Regions from separate parts of the Homo sapiens genome. Here regions 1 and 3 are each linked to region 2. The links are contacts of gene promoters, found by promoter capture Hi-C in human tissues and cell types (Jung and others, 2019). All regions are on one chromosome and are shown on one strand. Each heading gives the region's core, a stretch centred on a gene start or on the middle of the fragment in contact. The rest is flanking DNA. Distances are from core to core; before and after follow the strand shown. Region 1 overlaps ELMO2 (engulfment and cell motility 2). Region 2 holds the start of CD40 (CD40 molecule). Region 3 has its middle 52 kb from the start of ELMO2.

Region 1 (3,867 bases), core at 934-3,433, 290 kb before region 2:
GGGCGGCAAGGAGAGGGCTGGGAAGAAGCCGGAGAGCGCTCGGGGCGGGCCCGCACGAGTTGAAAGCCCGGGGTCATGCTCAACCTGGACCCGGCTGCCCGCGTCCACCAGTCCGCCCCGTGGATCCTGCTGGCTCAGTAGCACCCCGGTGCATGTACTTTCCACCTCCTGCGCTCACCCTTGAGTTCAGGCCCCTCTCGCTTCCTGCCTGGGCAGTTGCAGTGTGTTAACTGGTCTGCCCTGCGCAGGCACAGGGGCCCTTCTCCTGTCGGCCTTGCACCGTGCCCAGAGAAACCTTTCCTTTTTTTTTGAAACCTTTCCGAGACGGAGTCTCGCTCTGCCGCCCAGGCTGGAGTGCAATGGCGCGATCTCGGCTCACAGCAACCTCCGCCTCCCAGGTTCCAGCTATTCTCCTGCCTCAGCCTCCCAAGTAGCTGGGATTACGGGCGCCTGCCACCACGCCCAGCTAATTTTTGTATTTTTAGTAGAGACGGGGTTTCACCGTGTTAGGCTGGTCTCGAACTCCTGACCTCAAGTGATCCGCCCGTCTCGGCCTCCCAGAGTGCTGGGATTACAGGCGTGAGCCACCGCGCCCAGCCGAGAAATGCAGAGCAGATCTGGATGCTTAGGGCATGAAACTGGCCCGGCGTCCCACCCCTTTGTAGGGTCAGATCCAGAACCTCACCCAGGCCCTGGAGATCCGGTCCCGCTGACCTCTCCCAAGTCTGTCTACTCGTCCGTCCGCTTGCTCAGTGCTCTCCACACACTGGCCTCTTTCTGTTCCTTCTACATCCCAAGCTCCTGCCTTCCTTGGGGCCTTTTATTTAGTATTCCTCCTCCCTGGTCTGCTCTTCCTCCCCTGGCTTAGTCTTGTAAACTCTTCTTCATCCTTCAGATCTCCGCTTAAGCATCACTTCTGCAGGGGAGGCATCCCTGTCCCTGACTTTTCGACCAGTACCCCACGTTTATCACCCTGGGTACTTGTCCTTAACAACACTTGCACAACTGCAATTTTACATTTATTTACAAAAGTATTGATATTTCTCTGTCCATCCCACCAGATTGTAAGGTCCACGAAGAAGATAGTGTCGGTTTTGCTTCATGTAGTATCTCTAGCATCTCACACAGGGCCAGGCAATATAAATATTTACCAAATAAATAGATGCAGGGTTTGAATTTGGCAAGAGGAAGGGGATGTGAATCGTGGTCACTGATGTCCTACCTGCAGGGGAATGAAACTGACATTTGGAATGCTTTTTGTGTGCCAGGCTCTATGCTAGAGTGATGCTGCTGTCTAATAGAAATGTAATGTGAGCCATAGATATAATTTTAAATTTTCTAGTAGCCACATTAAAAAATGGAACAGCTGAAATTATTTTAGTAATATATTTAACACAATATATTCCAAAATTATATTATTATAACATAATCAATATTAAAACATTATTAATGGGATATTTTACGTTCTTGTTTTTTGTACTAAGTTTTTGAAACCTGGTTTGTATTTTACACAGAGGGCAGCCTGTGCCACTTTTCAAGTGCTTAGTAACCACCTATGGCCAGGGATTGTGGTATTGGGCTGTACAGTGTCACACACTTTGTATACCCTCTAGAGTCTTTTGAGATAACTGTTGTTATCTGCACTTTACTGATATCGATAGTGAAGCTTCTAAAAGAGGTTGCCTGCCGGGGATAATTCTAGAGTTTGTAAGTGGAGGAGGTGAGATTAGGACCTCTATCTGTTCATCTTCAGTCTGGTCTTTCTATATATCTGATGTGGACTCTAGGAGGTGCAAAGGAAGTTTGAGGGTACAGGAAGTCAGGACCAAACTTCTTTAAAAACTTCAGTGTACAGCATATTCTAGCTTGTTCTGTGCTCAGATAATGTGTCCAGATGTAGCAGTACCACCTGCCAAGGTGGCTCAGCAAGAAGCATATTTGATGCAGTTGAAGAAAACCCTGCAAGGCAAGTCCTTTGACCTGGTCACCATACCTCGGCCCAGCCTGGACTAAGTCTGGTCCCAGGACCTGGATAGAAAAAAACACATACCATGCAGCATCTCAGAGGTGCTGAGAATACTAGGCTTGAGTTTATAGCCTGGCTTTTCTATTTTTTTTTTGAGATGGAGTTTTACTCTTGTCGCCCAGGCTGGAGTGCAATGGTGCCATCTCGGCTAACTGCAACCTCCACCTCCCACGTTCAAGCGATTCTTGTGCCTCAGCCTCCTGAGTGGCTGGGATTACAGGTGCCTGCCACCGTGCCCGGCTGATTTTTGTATTTTTAGTAGAGACGGGGTTTCACCATGTTGGCCAGGCTGGTATTGAACTCCTGATCTCAAGTGACCCGCCCACCTCAGCCTCCCAAAGTTCTGAGATTACAGGCGTGAGCCACGGCGCCCGGCCTACAGCCCCAGTTCAGCAATTGCTCACTGAGTATCTACCACGTGACCAGCACTGTTGTAAGCCATTTTTGGTGATTGGGCGGTGTATGTCATAGCCTTCATCTTCAGGATGCTTCAGGTATACTTGGAAAGACAAGACTGGATCACATAAAATGACTAGATGGTATGCAAGGCATCATGAGGTGTAATGAAGAGCCAGAATCAGTATGGGCTGGAGGCTGCAAAGTGGCTGTCTTGGCCAAGCTGCATGATGTGTTTTTAAAAATGTTGGATTTAAACTCCTCTAGGCAAGGTGGTACTTTGCAGTGTTACAGACCCTACATGGAGGCTGCTTGTTTTATTTACTTACCTGCTTGGCTGCCCAAGACATTTGAATTTATAACCCTATTAGGCATGCTATGCTGGTTTCATGTGAGTCACTAGAAAATATTTGTTGAGCACTTCTTATTTGCCAGGCATTGTATTAGCTGCTGCTTTGGAACTGATCATAACATTTTCCAAAGTTCTTCCACTGGGAAATAGTAATAATAATAGTGGAACACCAACAAATGCTTTGCCTTTTGTATTGACTTTCCTCCCGGACTGCCTTCACATATGCTCTCTTATTTTGTCAACAATACACAACATACCTGCCTAGCAGGTAGGGCTTACTGTGTTGGGGAAACGTGGTTTCAGAGCTTTTGCAGTTTCTTCAGGTTCACACGGTTAGAATTCTGCTATTATGCTTAGTGCTTTATTATCCCACTTGATGCTCACAACAGCTTTACGGGGTAGAGTTGATGCTAATCCCCATTTTACAGGTAAGAAAATCGTTAGTGCTAAGATCCAAGTTCAGGCCTTTCCCACTCCAGAACACAGCTCCTAACTTGTTAAGCTACACTTCCTCACTAGAAGGCCAAAGTTGGAAGAAAGCTCAAAAACATCTAGTCCAGCCCCCGATGTAGATCAGGACCTGAGGTCCAGAAAGGCTTGTGTTTGTGGCAAAGCTGTGCTGCAGGAGGAGGACTAAACCAGAAGTGGGGGCCTAGGCCTTCTTTTGTCCCTAACTGGTGGCATGGCCTTGCCAGCTTCTCTGGACTTCAGTTCCCTTATTTATGTAATGAAAGGGCTTGGCCTGATTTTACACTGAGAACAATGCTGTGCTGTTATGGTCAGTATTGAAGGAGTTCACAGCCCGAGATTTTAGTTGTAACCCAGGACTCTTCCCAGCACACCACACTCCCTCCCTACCCAAGCTCCATCTCCTTGTGCAATCACGGTTTTCTAAAGTTTAATTCTGAAGTTCATCTGTATTTTCCATCTCAGTTTCTGTTTCCTCTCATTTCCAAAAACTGAGGTAAGTGGTTTGTAAACACTGACTTTTTGTAAATTCATCTCTTCAGTCATTGTGGTTAGGGATTTGGAAAGTTCTAGGCAATTAATAATCCTCAGTCAGTAGTGTTTTCACTCTCTTCTGAAGGCATTT
Region 2 (3,376 bases), core at 204-2,703:
ATGAGACCTTTGGCAAGACAATCCCCCTTTCTGAGCCTCAATTTGCCCATCTGTATAATGGGGGAGTTGTGAGAAATCAGACAAAGAAAACAGGCAGTGTTTGGCTCAGAGCCTGACACACAAGAAGCCCTCAATAGATAGCTTCTGACATTGTTGTCACAGCCCAGCCTCTACCTGGAGCCAAAGTTGGGAGTTATGAGGGCAAACTCTGCTCTTGAGAAGCCTGGATCACACCCTTCACCCCACCTCCTCTGGCTCTTTCTCCACTCCTACCACAAGGGCCCCCCTTTACCTCTTTCCAGCTCCGCCCTCCCCCTGCCTCCCTGTTCCCTAAGAGCCATTGCTTCAGGTGAAAGTGAAAGCTGTGGGACCAAAGCAGCCTCCCCACTCCCTCTCTTCCCTTGCTGCTTCCCTTGCTTTCCTTGATACCATGGGTCATTCCTGCCCAGGCTTCAGGCAGGAATCTACAGCCCTCTAAAGTAGGGGGAGGCCAGAGGGGCTGGGATGAAGGAGCCAGGTACTTGGGGGATTCCCAGCCTCCAGAATGAGGAACTACAAAAATACATTTAAACAAAAAGTGAGTCAAGTGTAGGCTTCTGAAAATCCCGGAGATATGCTTGGTTGGCTCTGAGCCCCTCTGGTGCCTGGAGAAACCCCTGGTTTCTCCAGCCCTCTGATCACCAGCCCTGTCAGAGCCAACCAGAACTCTGGTCTCCTAACCCTTTATTGTGTCCCATAAACTGTTCATCTCCCCAGGGGTCTCCTATGTCATCTTAAATTCAGGAGAAAAAGGCAAAGCCCTGGGGATTCCTCCTAGGTTGGAACACCCAAGATACGGTTCGGGGTGGAAGGCGATGTTAAAAGCTCCTTGCCTTCTCACAAAAGTACCTGGGCCTCTGCACCCATCTCTTGTTCCCACAAGATGCCCTGGAAGAAGGCAGCCCCAGCTGGCAAGGAGATGATAACTACTTACAGAGGCTGGCATCTGTCCACAATAAGAAGGGGACAGGAAACGGGCCAGACCCGCCCCTTCCCTTGGTCCGCCTCACTTCCCGCCCTCTGAACCCCCTACCAGTCTCTGTGTGGCCAGCCTCTGAGGCTCCCTAAACCCGTCCAGGCCGTCTAGGCACGCTTGGGCAGCCAGTGCCTTCCCTGAGCGGCCCCTGTAGGCCGCTCCCGGGACCCCAGCCCGGGAGAAGAGAGAGGCAGCCCACCCCATTCAGCCAGGAGCGGGGGCACCTTGCCCAGCTCCCACCCACCCTCCTGCCCCCACAAAAATCAGCCAGGAAGGCCTCTTCCCCGAAGTCTTCCTTCCCTTTCCTTCTCATTCCCCACTCCCAACTCCCGTCTGGTCGGGGCAAAAACAACTCACAGCGGTCAGCAAGCAGCCCCAGAGGACGCACTGCAGAGGCAGACGAACCATAGCGAGGTGAGACCAGGCGGCAGGACCACTGGGCGCCCGAGCGAGGCCTCTGCTGACTCCCCTGCCCCAGCCTTGGCCCCGCCCAGGAAAGGGGCGGGGTCTTCAAAGACCAATCGCGGTCCACCTATCGGGGGGGCGGAGCCCCCAGCAATTCACCGCGCAGGAGTTTCCCCAGAACATTCCCACAAGTCTAATTCCCCCGGGAGTTTAGGGACGCATCTTGCTGTGTACGGGAGGAGGCATGGTCCCAGAGACAGCTCTTCTTCTTTGCCCCCAGGTCCCACAAAGGCCAAGCCGAGGCGGGCTAGGAGCTAGCCTGCTTCCTGCGACCGGAGAGAGATCCCATGGGTGCTGGGGCCTGCCACAGGGACCCTCACGGTTTTCCCCTCCCTGCCCCGCTCTCCGCTGCCTCTAGGTATCCTGGCAGAACCGAAAGAGGCTCCACTGCGGAGAGGCCTGAGGAAGTTCCCCCCACACCACCACGCAGAAAACGGGAAGGCCACAGCTGGGGTATGGGGAGGCGTTTCAAGGAAGAGTTTCCCAACTCAGAATTTCGCTCTCTTTCAAAGGAAATTCCCTCGTGTGGGCGCGTCGTCTCAACTTCCCATCCATTCATCCATGCATCCATGCGTCCTCACCTCATTCCATTCCATCCCACCTCCCACCCAGCACCTGGAGACAGGCATTTATTAAGAGTGGGGCCGGGCGCGGTGGCTCACGCCTGTAATCCAGCACTTTAGGAGGCCGAGGCGGGCAGATCACTTGAGGTCAGGAGTTCGAGACCAACCTGGCCAACATAGTGAAACTCCGTCTCTACTAAAAATACAAAAATTAACCGGATGTAGTGGCGTTCGCCTGTAATCCCAGCTACTCGGGAGGCTGAGGCAGGAGAATCGCTTGAACCGCAGAGGCAGAGATTGCAATGAGCCGAGATCGTGCCACTGCACTCCAGCCTCGAAGGCAGAGCAAGACTCAGTCTCAAAAAAAAAAAAAATAAATAATAAATAAAAATAAAAATAAAGGTGGGGGCCAGGCGCGGTGGCTTACGCCTGTAATCTAACACTTTGGAAGGCCAAAAAGGGAGATTGCTTGAGGCCAGGAGTTCAAGACCAGCCTGGCAACATGGCAAGACCCCCATCTCTACAAAATAAAGAAATTTTTAAGTTAGCCAGGCATGGTGGCAAACACCTGTAGTCCCAGCTACTCAGGAGGCTGAGGCAGGAGGATCGCTTGAGCTCAAGAAGTCAAGGTTGCAGTGAGCCATGATTGCAATGATTACATCACTGCACTTCAGCCTGGGCGACAGTGCAAAACTCCATCTCAAAAAAAAAAAAAGAGTGGGCCAGCCTTTTGTGGCATCATAAAACACTTTAAGTATGTTAGGAAACTCGGGACCCTCTCATTTTGCAGAAACACACACACTTGTGCCTACATTTCCTGGGTTCATGAACTCTGAAGACGTGCTTTTGTTTTTTTGTTTTTTGTTTCGTTTTGTTTTTTGGGTGTTTGTTTGGTTTTTGGTTTTTGGGTTTTTTTTGACAGAGTCTCATTCTGTTGCCCAGGCTGGAGTGCAGTGGCATGATCTCGGCTCACTGCAACCTCTGCCTCCTGGGTTCAAGCAATTCTCCTGCCTCAGCCTCCCGAGTAGCTGGGATTACAGGCTGGCGCCACCACGCCCAGCTAATTTTTGTATTTTTAGTAGAGACGGGGTTTCTCCACGTTGGCCAGGCTGGTCTCAAACTCCTGACCTCAGGTGATCCGCCTGCCTTGGCCTCCCAAAGTGCTGAGATTACAGGCATGAGCCACCGCACCTGGCCCTCAAGATGTTCTTGAACCAGTGTTAACACTCTGCTTTGCAGCATGGAACACCTGGGTTCTGGTGCAGCCTCTGCCTCTGAAGGACTGTGTTCCCTTAGGCCTAAATTTTTCTCCAAGGAAAACTTAGGAGCTTGA
Region 3 (3,633 bases), core at 372-2,871, 340 kb before region 2:
CTGTAAGTTTAAAATATTTCAAAATAAAAAGTGTAAAAGGGTAAGAAAATTATTAACAACATGTTCAATGAAAAGACCCAAATCACTCATTGAGATTTTGGGGTCCCATTTCAATATCATCTAACATTGGCCATGGTCATCTCTGGAAGGGGAGATTCTGAGTGTGCTTCTTAGATGAAATTTTCCTTTGATTTATGTGTATTTGCCATTATGTGAGGCTTTTACTTTTGAAATCCAGTTTCAGGTGGAGGTAATATTTGCATTCTGCGGAAAAAGCTTTCTGGTCGTGGTTATTAATCTTTTACTTATTGCTTTGCTTTATTTTCTATAAATATTCCACTATGTTGCTTGGCTTTCATTAATTTTGTTTTCAGATGTGCAGTTGACAAACTCCTTTCCTTCTCACGGTAGCTTTGCCTCTGAAGTGACACTGATTGTAAGTGGAGTGCATGCAAATCTCCTACCTGGTGGGTTATGAGGAACTAGGGCTCCAAATAAAAGTAAAGATGACTTTGGACCACAAATCCCCCAACTTGCCAAGTAAGCCAGAAACTCTTCAGACGTTCCTTAAGGAAGGGGGCGCGGAGACTTGTGGGAAACGGAGTCTGGAAGTTGATGGATCGCCCCGGCAGGGCCCCGGGAACCGGTCTTTGGCAGCCCCGTCTGCGCATGTGCAGACTTCCTCCTTGTTCCTTACTCCTGTCTCTGATCAGCGTGGAGCCTCCGCGTCTACGCGTAACTCAGCGACCAGGTGCTGCACTAACGATGCGCTCCGCAGGTGAGAGCCTAGCTTGGAGGGTTGCTTTGCGGGGCTTGGGGTAGGTTTGTGTTCACAGCCTGTGGAAGCAAAAACTTGCGCAAATCCCACGCGGGTTGAGACCCTCTGGCACTTGTTCCCGAGTCTGCCCTGCATCTGTCCGTCTAGAAAGCAAGTGACGGAGGAGGAGGTCCGCTGCGGATCTGCAGGTGCCACGAAGAAGATAAGGGCGGAGGGAACAGGTTTCCTGATCAGAATAAAGGGCTCCGGGAAAAGGCATTCACATGTTAAAAGAGCTGTTTCCAGAAGCTCCTCTAACTCGCAGGTGCCCTGGGCAACCATTCATCAGCTGGTCAAACCCACTACTCCAGCGGGGATGAGAACAATTCTTACAAAGTTTACTTTATGCTGTACTATCATTCCTACCTTAGCAAGCCTTATTGCAGATGCAGAGCCTGAGTTTGAAAGTAAGACGAGTTCACATCCTAGGTCTGTCACTGGCTCTCCATGAACACAGTGATGAACCTAAACTCTAAGACTCAATTTCCCCATCTGTAAAATGAAGTTATTTCTAAAACCTGCTTCAGGGTCGTTCTGAGTGTTGAATAAGAGAGCACCTCTAAAGCACTCCGCACAGGTCCTGACATTTTCTAAGCACTCTGGAAATGCGGCCTGCCTTTCCCACTGTTCTTTTCACTCGGTGTGTCATTTGATTCTCAAAGACCCCCTGTAAAGTCGGTGTTACCCACCCTATTTTAACTGAGAAGAAAACCAAGACTCTGGAGGTGAAGTCACATGGCTAGCAAGTGAAGGATCTGGGATGCAAGCCTCAGTTTTATTTCCAAATCGCATGCTTCACAGCACTTAGCAGAGTGGCATGTCTCTATGGGCCAACCGGAGTGTGTAAGGACTGAGCCTTCCCTTAAGGATCTTGGAGATTTCTTGGTATCTCTGCAGAACCCTGGGGGTACTGTGTAACTGAGGCCTCTGGGAAACTCAAGGTCCATCTGTTTGTGCCCTCCACAGTTCTCAGGTTCCCAAGGGAGATTTGCAGGCAGTGGTTTTCAAACTCGCATGCATCCGTATCACCTGAAGGGCCTGTTAAACCCCACCCCACGACTGGGCCCCACACCCAGCGTTTCTGATTCAGTAGGTCTGGGGAGAGCCCCAAGGATTTGCCTTTCTATTTAGTTCCCAGGTGATGCTGATGCTGCCAGTCCAGGGTCCACACTGAAAGCCTCTGTTGTAGGAGATAGTGAACTCCAAGAGAGAGTTGGAACCGGCTGAAGGTCCCAGTTATCTGAATTTATTCCCTCTCTCCCCAGCCAGGGTCACCCTGCTCCTGTGAGGAGGGGACGCCAGAAGCAGGAATCTCGCCTGGGAGGTTCCCACCCTCTGATAAAACGCACACAGCTGCACCAAGGACGTCTGGGAAAACAGGCAAGTCTGTAAGCGCTTGCTCTTGAAGCAATTCCCGATTCTTCCGCCCTGAATAACTCATCATGTCGGAGGTTGCCAAGAACCGTCGGTCAACGAAGGTGTGGGCCAGCTGTCACAGGACAGAGGTGAGCTGGGCTGAGGATGGCGAGCTGGACTGAGGATGGTGGGCAGGAGGCCGGCTGCGGGGGAGGAGGAACTCCCAGGTGAGTACCTGGTGCGCATGACGGGGAAGATACTATCACCACTCCTCTCGGAAACTCCTCCCATGCCCCTAATTCTTCAACCCCTCTTCCTAGATTTCTGCAGAGCCCTCAAACCCCACCCATCTCCACATCTGGAATTTAGGGACATGCTACCCACTACCTACTCTTGACTTTATAGGAGTACGGGGAAGCTTTTCAGCGGTTATGTAATTGTGCCTCATTTTAAAAGTGAAAAATATTAACACAGTGCTCAAGTGAATGGATCTGGGGCCGGATTGCCCGGGTTCAAAGCCCAGCTCCACCACATTGCTCAGTCTTCCCCTCGCTTTCCTATTCTATGAAATGGAAGTCATAATAGTAGCTATGCTTGGCTTTATTTTAAAGGTTAAATGAAGGAAGACATACAAAGTACTTAGAACAAGTCCTGTTATATAGTAACTACTATACAAGTATTGTCAGTATTTTTTTTTTGAGACGGAGTCTCGCAGTGTTGCCCGGGCAACACTATGAAGGAGAGAAACACTATGAATGTAATGAATTTGGAAAATTTAGCAAGAAATCAAACTTTACCCAACATCAAAGAATGTACACAGGAGAAAAACCTGATGAGTGTAAAGAAAATGAGAAAGCCTTGAAGAAGTTATACCATACTCAAAATGAGAGAACTCATGCAGGAGAGAAAGTCTATGATTGTAAGAAATGTGGGAAATTCTTTCATGAAAAAGCATGCCTTACTCAACATCAGAGAACCCACACAACAGGAAAACCCAGCAAGTGTAATGATAGTGAAAGAGTCTTGAAGGAATCTTGCCTCACTCCCAATCAGAGAATTAAAACAAGATTAAAACAAGAGAGAAAAACTGTAAAGGTAATAAATGTGAGAAACCTTTCTTTGAGAAGTTGAAACACACTCAACATCAGAGAAGGCACTTGGGGAAAAAAAATAATGGGCGTAATGAAAGTGGGGTGCCTCAAGTAGGAAGTCACAACTTACACAAAGCCAGAGAGCTCACAAAAAAAGAGAAAACCTATGACTGCAATAAATGTGGAGAAAGCTTCTGTAAGAAAACAGATCTCAGATAGCATCAGAGCACACACACACGGAAGAAAACCCTATGAATGTAATGAATGTGAAAAATCCTTCTTTGTGAAGTCCAACTACGCTGAACATCAGAGAACTCACACAGGAGAAAAACCATATGAATGTAATGAACGTGGAAAGTCCTTCTGCCA

What was found. Contacts are between HindIII fragments. The study calls those that stand out against the background at their distance.
Region 1: a contact is called between a fragment that was not itself captured here and the fragment with the promoter of CD40 in region 2, in 1 of the 25 tissues and cell types used here (lymphoblastoid cells).
Region 3: a fragment that was not itself captured here is called in contact with the fragment with the promoter of CD40 in region 2 in 2 of the 25 tissues and cell types used here (dorsolateral prefrontal cortex and lymphoblastoid cells).

Annotation. Positions count from the first base shown.
Region 1 is chr20:46,402,338-46,406,204 of GRCh38, reverse strand. All of the region lies in intron 1 of ELMO2 (engulfment and cell motility 2), which reads left to right. Among named protein-coding and RNA genes, the nearest start is that of ELMO2, 2.3 kb to the left of the region's middle. RefSeq lists a silencer at 1-152 and an enhancer at 1-409. The HindIII fragment of the contact is 5,740 bases long and covers 1-3,867 here.
Region 2 is chr20:46,116,391-46,119,766 of GRCh38, reverse strand. CD40 (CD40 molecule) reads right to left here and starts at 1,453. Exons shown (of 9, transcript NM_001250.6): 1 at 1,373-1,453. The coding sequence starts at 1,423. RefSeq lists enhancers at 231-580, 1,591-1,650, 1,416-2,232, a silencer at 1,455-1,674 and a cis regulatory region at 174-2,271. The HindIII fragment of the contact is 12,179 bases long and covers 1-3,376 here.
Region 3 is chr20:46,456,364-46,459,996 of GRCh38, reverse strand. It overlaps the pseudogene ZNF663P. Among named protein-coding and RNA genes, the nearest start is that of ELMO2, 52 kb to the right of the region's middle. RefSeq lists enhancers at 279-818, 819-1,359. The HindIII fragment of the contact is 4,421 bases long and covers 1-3,633 here.